3 separate regions of the Homo sapiens genome follow, and all the other regions are linked to region 2. The links are contacts of gene promoters, found by promoter capture Hi-C in blood cells and fetal thymus (Javierre and others, 2016). All regions are on one chromosome and are shown on one strand. Each heading gives the region's core, a stretch centred on a gene start or on the middle of the fragment in contact. The rest is flanking DNA. Distances are from core to core; before and after follow the strand shown.

What was found. Contacts are between HindIII fragments. The CHiCAGO score rates a contact against its expected background, and 5 or more counts as called.
Region 1: a fragment that was not itself captured here is called in contact with the fragment with the promoter of MOB4 in region 2 in 1 of 17 cell types (total CD4 T cells); the score reaches 5.8 in total CD4 T cells.
Region 3: a contact is called between a fragment that was not itself captured here and the fragment with the promoter of MOB4 in region 2, in 2 of 17 cell types (total B cells and total CD4 T cells). The highest score is 5.9, in total B cells.

What each region holds. Positions count from the first base shown.
Region 1 is chr2:197,070,256-197,073,516 of GRCh38, reverse strand. The region is part of intron 16 of ANKRD44 (ankyrin repeat domain 44); the gene reads left to right. Among named protein-coding and RNA genes, the nearest start is that of ANKRD44-AS1, 130 kb to the left of the region's middle. The HindIII fragment of the contact is 1,313 bases long and covers 924-2,236 here.
Region 2 is chr2:197,514,673-197,517,919 of GRCh38, reverse strand. It overlaps MOB4 (MOB family member 4, phocein), which reads right to left and starts at 1,854. Exons shown (of 8, transcript NM_015387.5): 1 at 1,774-1,854. The coding sequence starts at 1,833. The region is part of intron 2 of HSPE1-MOB4 (HSPE1-MOB4 readthrough); the gene reads right to left. RefSeq lists a silencer at 1,796-2,015. The HindIII fragment of the contact is 18,120 bases long and covers 1-3,247 here.
Region 3 is chr2:197,006,428-197,009,874 of GRCh38, reverse strand. It overlaps ANKRD44 (ankyrin repeat domain 44), which reads left to right. Exons shown (of 28, transcript NM_001195144.2): 19 at 844-931; 20 at 1,952-2,069. Among named protein-coding and RNA genes, the nearest start is that of PGAP1, 81 kb to the right of the region's middle. The HindIII fragment of the contact is 174 bases long and covers 1,542-1,715 here.

The sequences.
Region 1 (3,261 bases), core at 331-2,830, 440 kb after region 2:
AGAAGGCTGTGTTTGGGAAATCACTCCACTCTCAGAAATGATGGGTCAAAGTATATATTTCCCAATGTCCAAATGTGAGCCAAGGGCCAGAGCTAGCCTGGGGTTCTCCTTGATCCCACTCGGGAAGGCTGCGTGGAAGAGTCAGGAGACCCAGGATTCCTAGTGTGGAGAGGGGAATATAAGTTACCAGCAGGAAGGTCCATTCACCCAGGCAGAGGCACTGCAGGTGAGACACCCCAGTGATGGTGGAGAACCTAATTCAGCATCTAAGAGAGGGACAATTGTAAACATCTGGCCTGGTCAGAAGACATCACTGCCAGAAGGGTGCCAGTCAGACCATTGTCCCTGCTCCTAATGTGTCTTCCTTTGCCTATCCCCTTTAGAACTGGAGGAGGCAGAGGCAGATGAGGAGGAGGAGAAGCCCTAGGTTGGGGAACAGAGAAGTCAGCCATGTCTCGTTACCCACTCAGTCTTTAGGGGAAGGCGGGAAGGAGTTTTAATAAGTTTAACAATGTTAGGAGTCTGTGATTGTCATACTGGAACAGATGTATTGATTGCTGACATGAAGTTATGTTTTAAACTAAAGTGCCTAGAGAACTCTTTATTATTTGTTGGAGATTTTGCATGAAGTGGCAGGAAAAGAAGTAACCTCATAAAGGAGATCGGACCTAGTATAGGGAAAAAGAGAATAAATGTATTATTTGATTATATCCATGACTCGCTGGTTCAGTAAATAGCTAAACACTTAGTCATTGTTTCAGGAAAAAATTAATGCTGAGCTCTAAGGAAAAATAAACTATTATCCTTTAAACATTTGCGGATTTAAATATCAACTTATAAGGCATTAGGTTCTAATACTGTCAGGCACTTATCAGGTGCCAAAAGTTGTTGAACAAGTGAAATACACTGTGAGTGACTAAGCTTTATTTAGTGATAAAACATCAATGCTAATTTTTAAGTATATAGCAACTGTCCTGTTTGTTAGGAAGGTATTTCATAGAAGATGGCAGGTGAGAAAAGAAATGAAAATTTGCCTTTCTGTGGCCTGGACTTTTCTTTAGATTTGATTACTTTCCAATACCAGCTCATTTTATTGCAACTGGTCCTCCATGTTTTCTTCTTCAATAAAAACCTATACTAACATGTCAAACTGGTATAAAGACATCACATACACACACATACACATATGTGCACACATTTCTCTGTAATTTCTTCCAGATGGATAGGGAGCACTAAGAGGTTCAAGGAATAGGAATTATTGCTTCTGATGTGGAAACTTCTAAGGACTCAGTGATGTCAGAAAAAGGAAGATTTTTTGTTTTAAAGAGAAGGCAGTTTACAAGTCAACCAAAAAAATAAGTTAATCTGGCCCACCCTCCTTTCCTCCCCCTACCCTCCCTCCTCCTTTCTTCCTTTTCCTTCCTTCCTTCCTTCCTTCCTTCCTTCCTTCCTTCCTTCCTTCCTTCCTTCTTTCCTCCCTCCATCCCTCCCTCCCTCTCAGTCACAAACCCACTAGGGAAGCCTGAGCAGAGCAGGAAGGCAGCCCAGTTGGCACTGAGGCCGCAGGAGGGAAGTCAGGAAGGCAGCCTAGTAAGGGTTGGAACCCCACTCAAGGAGAGTGTCCTAAATATGTATGCCCCAAACAACAGAGCTACAATATATGTGAAGCAAAAACTGTTAGAATTGAAAAGATAAACAGAAATACACAATTATAGTGGGAGACTTTAGCACCTCTCTCTCAACAATTGGTAGAACAATGAGACTGAAAATTGTCAAGTATATAGAAAAACTCAATAACATAATCAACCAAGAGGATCTGATCAACAATAAGAACACTCTACCCAGCAACATGAGAATACATATTTAGTTCAAGTGCCCATGAACATTCACAAAGATAAGCAATATCTTGAACCATAAAACAAAATTCAAAAAACATAAAAGAATTGAAATCATATAGAGCGTGTTTTCTAGCCATAATGGGATAAAACTAGAAATCAATAACAGAAAGATACCAGGAAAATCTCCAACACTAGGAAATTAAAACCAGACTTGTAAATAATTCATGAGTTAAAAGGAAAGCCTCAAGAGAAATTCAAAAAATATCTTGGACTGAATGAAAATGAAAGTACAACAAAGTGAAATTTGGGGACTCAGCTAAATTATGCTGAGAAAGAAATTTTTAGCACAAAATGGTTACATCAGAAAAGAGGAAAGTCTCAAGTCAGTAATCTAAGCTTCTACCTCAAGAATCTGGAGAGAGCAAATTAAACTCAAAATAAGCAGAAAATTGATATAAAGATGGAGGCAGAAATAAATGAAATTGAAAACCAGTGAAGAAATTCAATGAAACAAAAATCTGGTTCTTTGAAAAATCAGTAACATTGACAAACGTGTAGCTAAGAAAAAGAGAGAGGAAACATAAATTAACAATATCAGGAATGAAATAGGGGATATCCCCATATACCTTACAGATATTAAAAGGATAAAGGAATATTATGAATAACTCTGCATACATTGACAACTTGATAAAATAGACTCATTCATTGAAAAACACAAACTACCACCATTTACCCAGTATGAAGTAGATCATTTGAATAGCCCTTTAACTATTCAGAAAATTAAATTTTAAAACTTCCCCTAAAGAAATTTCCAGGCATGGATGATTTCACTGGAGAATTCTACCAAATACTTAAAGAATTAACATAATTCTACACAGTCTTTTCTGGAAAATAGAATACAAGAGAATACTTTCCAATTCATTTATGAAGGTAATACCTTGATATTAAGTACCAAAGACACACACACACACACAGAGAGCGAGAGCGAGCACAATGTCTTTCATGAACATGAATGCAAAAATCTTTACAAATTACCAAATAGAATTCAGTGATACATGCAGAGAATTATATACCATGACTAATGGAATTTATTACAGGGATGCAAGCCTGTTTCAATATTTGAAAATCAGTCAGTGTAATTCACTGTATTAACAGGCTAAAGAAGAAAAATCAGATTTATATCAACCAATGCAGAAAACACTTTTGATAACATTGAGCACTTCAAGACAATAAAACAAGCAAGCAACAACAACAACAACAAAAAACTCTCCTAGAAATATTAGATAGAGGGGAACTTCCTCAACTTGATAAAGAGCATGTAACAACTTGATAAAGAACAGCTAATTTACTTAACGGTAAAAGACTAAGTCAAGGATGTCTTCTTATACCACTCCTATTCAACATTGTGCTGAAAGTTCTAGCC
Region 2 (3,247 bases), core at 605-3,104:
GATCCGCCTGCCTCCACCTCCCAAAGTGCTGGGATTACAGGCGTGAGCCACCGCACCCAGCCCTCTATTATAGTTTTTAATTTTTTTTCTTTTGACCCAATAGGGAAGGAGATACGGTTCTAAATATATCATTTTAGAACAGATCCATTTCACTAAACGAAATTCATGTGATAAACAAGATAGGACAAACTACGGCGTAAGCAGTCTTTTTCATTTTTTATCCTTTTTCTGTTATATTTTATCTAACAACCTTGATCCATGACAATGTGAAAAAAAAAGACAATAAGTTTTCTTCTATGTGACTTACAGCAACATAGCAAGTATGTTACGATATTAAATATTTTATTTTCTAACCTTTCAAAATTAAGAACTTATGAATAAATGAGATGACTCTCAGAATATGAACAGAAAAGTCTACTTCTGAACATAAAAATGTAATCAGAAACAATGTTTCCACAGAATAAGATGTAAAGGTATCTGAGAAAAGAGCATGAGGAAGAAAAGTGTGGAAACGGTAAAAAGCAAGCATATGTAACGGATAAATTTCCAGTAGTATGAAAACAAAACTGTCAGTAGGAATAACTGACAGCTTAATGTGACTCCAAAATAAGACTTTAAAATTTTCTCTGAAATTCAGCACTAGAAGCAGCTTGTTAAAGAGAACAGGTCACCAGTGAATTAAGAATCAGGAGACTATGTATCCTTGGGCAAATCCACTTAATTCTCTTGGGCTTCAGTTTCCTTATCTGTAACATGAATCTGGGGAGGTAATCAATACCTGTATGCCCCCTTCGAAAGGTGTTCTTTCCATAATTCTGTATAAGAAATTAAAATCTATTCTCAGACATACAATCATAGCTCCACGATTGTTTTGTTTCAATTTTCATTTGCATCACTTTTTAACATTTTATAAACACATCTCTTCCGATTTCAGAGCATCTAGTCTATAGCAAGCCATTTCGGCTAGCAATTAATCAGTTCAAGTCTGGATGCCAATTTTATTTATTTATTTTTAATGTGAGGCATCCCATCTTTTCCAAACCCTAAGAAACAATGCCTAATCAAGCACCAATTTACCACACATAATGCCCTACAAAAAAGCTGACAAAATTATAATCAGTTCATTCTCTGACTATGCTTCACGCATATTAGCAAGGAATGACATCTAACAAGTCACAACTTAGTGATGAAAACTTGCTGGACCAGAGAACAGCTCCAGGGAAAGCGGCAGGGAGAGGTGGTCAAAGGGAAACAAGGAGGAGAATATCGGCACCCGGATCCGGCTAGACAAGCTGGATGGCAGGAAACGGGTAGGTACTTCCCAGGCCAGGTAGGAACTGGACGCCGGGTCGAGGTAGGCTGTGTTTACACCCCCTCCCACCTCAGCGGCCCCGACCTTCAGGAAACCCCGGGGGTCTCCACCAGGCTGGTCGCGCCCCTCCAATGCTAGTCAGCTGGGGCTCAGGGGCAAGGCGAGAAGAAGCCGTTGCTGCTGACAGGCTCGCAGCCCAGGGCTTCGGCAGGCAGGTACCACCAGCAGACCCCACCCGCCCCTCACGCCTACCCCTGGGTCGGAGCTCCGCAGGCCTCACGGCGGCCGCCACCGCCTCAGCCAAATTGAGGGGCTGCAGCTCCGGAAGAGCAGGCCGGGCACCAGTGCCCCAGCCCGCCCGCCTGCCGCCTCGGCCCAACCTCCCCGCAGTGGCGGCCAGCTTCCGGGCGCAGCACTGCTCGGCACCTAGTTGCCCGACAAGAAAAGTGCAGACATGGTACCTGCGCCTTGGTGCCCGGCCTGTTCCGCCTCAGCACTGCCGTCCCCTCCGCCATGACCATAGTGCCAGCGTCTAGGCGGCTGGAGTCGGTACCCGGATGTAGGGACGGCAGCCTGCGCGGGGGGCGGGGCAGAGCGGCGCTCTGCGTCTGGGAGGAGGAGCGGCAGCTGACGGAACAGCTGCAGCCTGCGCCGGGAGCCGTCCGGGTAGAAGCGGGCTAGGCGGAGGGAGAGGGCGAACGAGGAACAGCCGGACGGCGTCGGGTGGCTACTGGCAGGGACTGAGGCACCGGAAGGCGGGCGCCACGAGCCTCTTTGCGAGGGCTGCGGGGCGGTTTGAAAGGTCGTGATCGCAGCGACCGCTGCGGCAGTGTGCACGGCTGCGTTGCACGTTGGTATGGGCTCTCGTTAGTTACACGGGAAGAACGAACTTCGTATAGTGGCGACCGTTTCAGTAAACCCACCTGCAAGCAAATACTTAGAGAACCGTAATTCTGTCCCAGAAGCCACCTAAGGAATCAGGGTAGAAAACAGGCCAGCAGTCTTGGCAAATTCTATAGAACCTGCGTGAAATCGACCCAATCTGAAATCAGACGGGGGATTTGAGTGTCAGTGTTATTTACGCCATCCGGCGACTTCAAAGCCAAGGACTTTTTCAATGACAAGTTTGTTTACGTAGATAAAAGACGCAGATGTCAATTATGTGAGATGAAGAGTGGACATCTGGTTTTGTGCGTTAGGCAGACAGATTTAGCTCGTGTTTTTCAAGTCAGAAGCAGGAGGAGGAAATTAGTAGTCCTTGACAGGTGGTGAGGGTTTTACATCTTACAGGATTCCACATTTCCTTTGTTGCAAATTTTAAGTGTTCTCTCTTAAGAAACCACAGCATTTTCGCAAACTTTTTTTCCTGCTTAGAAACCTTGAATCTTTTATCTGGGGTGAGGGAGGCCTTGGGATAGCAGATGGGAAGACAGTTCAAAAAGTAAAAAACGCATACAGTAGCATGATTTCCAAAAGAAGAAAACATCAAGTGTCCCTAGATAGAAGGTGTATTGAGAATGCTGAGGGAAGGGCCATGTAACAGCTTCCAGAAATGGAATTTGAGAGGAGAGGAGAGGTTGAGTGGGTCTCTAGCTGAGTAATTGTCAGTGACTTAGAACTAGGCATTGAAGGGTTTAACAACAGGAAGTTGGTTCTCTCTGGAAGATGTATTGACTGGTAACTCTTCAAGAATAGGGACTTAATTTTGCCCTCCCAGAACCAGCGTCTACATATGAAAAGATTATTCGTTCAACAGATACTCATTAAGCCCCACTATATGGTAGGCACTAATGTACAAGTATGATAAGGCTCAGTCCTTCACTACAAATTGCCTTGACTCCAGCAACAGAGACGTGCAAATCACAAATTCTTATACAGGTTAAGTACCCCTCATCTTAAAGTTTGGGACCAAAACACTTTCAGATTTCTGATTAT
Region 3 (3,447 bases), core at 379-2,878, 510 kb after region 2:
GAAAGGACCCCAAGTGTAAGAAAAAACCCTCAACACAGGAACTAGAAAAGGAAGGTGGGGATCAATGCACCCTGCTAGGAAGAAGGGGGAAGACAGATTAACACAGAGGCACTCTGCCTGGAAACTACCTTGAGCTGGAAGCCGAGGGGGATCCAGCGGCAACAATGGAAAACCACTGATTTGAAGTCCAAATAAATGTCACTTGGGGCCAGGCACGGTGGCTCATGCCTGTAATCCCAGCACTTTGGGAGGCCAAGGCAGTCAGATTGCTTGAGCCCAGAAGTTCAAGACCAGCCTAGGCAACATGGTGAAACCCCATCTCTACTAAAAATGCAAAAATTAGCGGGTGTGGTGGTGCATGCCTATAATCCCAGCTACTCGGGAGGCAGAATAATCACTTGAACTCGGGAGGCGGAGGTTGCAGTGAGCCAAGATCATATCATTGCACTCCAGCCTGGACGACAGAGTGAGATTCTGTCTCAGAAGGTCACTTGGTGGCTCATGCCTGTAATCCCAGCACTTTGGGAGGCCGAGGCTGGCGGATCACCTGGGGCTAGGAATTCGAGACCAGCCTGGCCAAGATGGTGAGACCCTGTCTCTACTAAAAATGCAAAAATTAGCCAGGCATGGTGGTGCATGCCTGTAATCCCAGCTACTCAGGAGGCTGAGGCAGGAGAATAGCTTGAACCTGGGAGGTGGAGATTGCAATGAGATGACATCGCCCCACTGCACTCCAGCCTGGCGACAGAGCAAGACTCCATCTCAAAAAAAAGAAAAAGTCATTTGGAAGAGATATGTGTAGTGTTGTTCTGTTAAAAGACTGTCCACTGTTTTCTTTTTCAGTAATTAATGGTCACACACTGTGTTTACGGCTGTTGCTAGAAATTGCAGACAACCCGGAGGCGGTCGATGTGAAAGATGCCAAAGGACAGTAAGTGCGCTCACACGTGGCCTTGGGTTGACATTTCAATCACAGCAGCTACCTGGTTGGTTTCTTAAATCATTACAAGGCTGACTGCGGAACCGAGAAATTGGAGGAATATATTTGGACCAGGACCAATACACAATGAGGTGGCTTTAAGTCACAGTGCGTATATCCAAGAAAAGCATGAAGGAGTGGGTGTGCACATGTCTTGATGAAAGGATCACCTTTTTAAGGGCTGTGGCCATGTTTCCCGGCTCTTATTTATATTCTCTCCTTTGTTCCCTCTTTCCGCCCATTTTTACCTTCTTCTGAAGCTGCTACACCATTGCCATTTTCTAATTAATAAATAGGACAGACCTCATGAGGTTATCTCTATTATTAAAATCCTTCAGATGCCTTTTCTTCCTCAACTTTGCTTTTTCAAAGTAATTTCCTTCTGTTGGCATATTCCCCACCTAATCTTCTCTTACAAATAGGAAATGCAGAGCAAAAGTCAGCAGTGACTAGCCCCAGGCATGTGAATCAGTGTGATAGTCAGAATCTCACCTCCCTCTTGCATCACAACACTTCATTCTTTCCCGGAGACTTGACAGACTTTTCTTTAGGGAAAGAAGCTTTGTGTAAATGAAATCTTTAGCAGAAGTCCAACATAGAATACTACAAAGTAGAGCTGCTCTGATGGAAGCAAGAGGGGCTTCTGCATACACATACTCCCCGCCCTTGATATCTAGTAAATGCTACATGGATCTGAAAATGATGGGATTAACATGAATATTTTGAAAAGGAAGCTTCCCCTGCCTCATCCCTAGGGATCATTCCACTAACAACATTCCATGTGGCCATTAGAGCAGAGGCAGATAGCTTGTTCTGCATATTGTATAGCAAACTGGGGACACTTAGAAAATATTAAGAAATTGTCAAAAGGAGAGGGGAAGAGAATGGGAGAAAGAGAATGTCTTCCTACTGGTAGTGATGAATATTTTTTTAAATCTCCTTTTTAAAAGCCTGCTTTATCTCTCTGCCTAGAACACCACTGATGCTTGCAGTAGCATATGGACATATTGACGCTGTTTCATTGTTACTTGAAAAGGAAGCCAACGTAGACACTGTTGACATCCTAGGATGCACAGCTTTACACAGAGGGGTATGTACATCTTTCTCAGCTCTAGTCAAGCAATTTTTTTAATGAGCTTGTTTTCTTTTTTAGCAAACAATTACAAAGGGCCTACTTTGATTGGATTTTTAGCAAAAAATGTTTAGCAAAAATTGTTTCCTAATACAACCAATTAACCTTATTCAGTCCAAAAGAAATTACAAAATCCTTGGCAAAGGCAAAATAATGGAAGGTTTTGCTCTTAAGATTTCATGTTAGATTGTGATAATAGATGCATGAACACCTACTGCTGGTGAAATTGGTTCTGCTTTCTGACTACAAAATACAAGTATATCATAGAAAATTTGCAGAATATTTTTTTTTAAAGCCCAGAGAAGAAAATCACAATCACCAGTAATCATACCTCCTGGAGATAACCACTATTTGATGTATATTATCTCCAATCTTTTTTCTATATATAGATTTGTTTTAGATTTTAAAAAGAGAATACTGAAGATATCATTTGGATTCTGCTTTTTTCTCTTAGTATATCAAGGATCTTTTTTCATTTCATTTTTTTCTGCATCATGATTTTTAATGCCTCATTGTGTTCAAGTGTCATAGTTTATTTCAATGATTACCTGGTTTTCAGTAGTTATGCAATTTCTAATTGTTTGTCCTTACAAATAATGCCAAAATATGTATCCTGTGGGCAATTATTTGCACACATCTGTTGAAGTGTTTGGTTTTTTTTTTTTAATCTCACTCTTATCACCCAGGCTGGAGTGTAGTGGCACAATCTCAGCTCACTGCAACCTCCACCTCCCAGGCTCAATGATCCTCCCACCTCAACTCCCCCCAGTAACTGGGACCACAGGTGCATGCCAGCATGCCCAGCTAATTTTTGTATTTTCTGTTGAGATGGGGTTTTGCCATGTTGCCCAGGCAGGTCTCAAACTGCTGGGCTCAAGTGATCCTCCTGCCTCCACCTCACAAAGTGCTGGGATTACAGGCATTAGCCACTTGCACCCTCTGAACTGTTTTTTAAAGCATGCCAAATAAACTAAGTAAACACAAGCAGAAATCATAAAATTGCTATTTTGGGCTGGTACCAAGTACACTGATAAATGAAGAGAAGAGGAACGCTATGTGATCATTGTCACAGTCATAGTTTTTATTTCTCAGTTGCTTCCTGTGTGCTGTACAACAAGCTGAGAGCCTTTGCATCTGTTATCTCAGTCCTCACAACGTCCTCTGAAGTTGTTATTACTATTCTTATATATAGGTGAATAGAGTGAGGGATGGAGAGGCGAACTGACCTGTCACAGGGGTGCCAAGATTTCACTTAGATCTTCCTGATTCTAAAACTCATGTTTACTGCTGCATCATGATATCTTTCTTTCTTTCTTTTTGAGATGGAGTCTTGCTC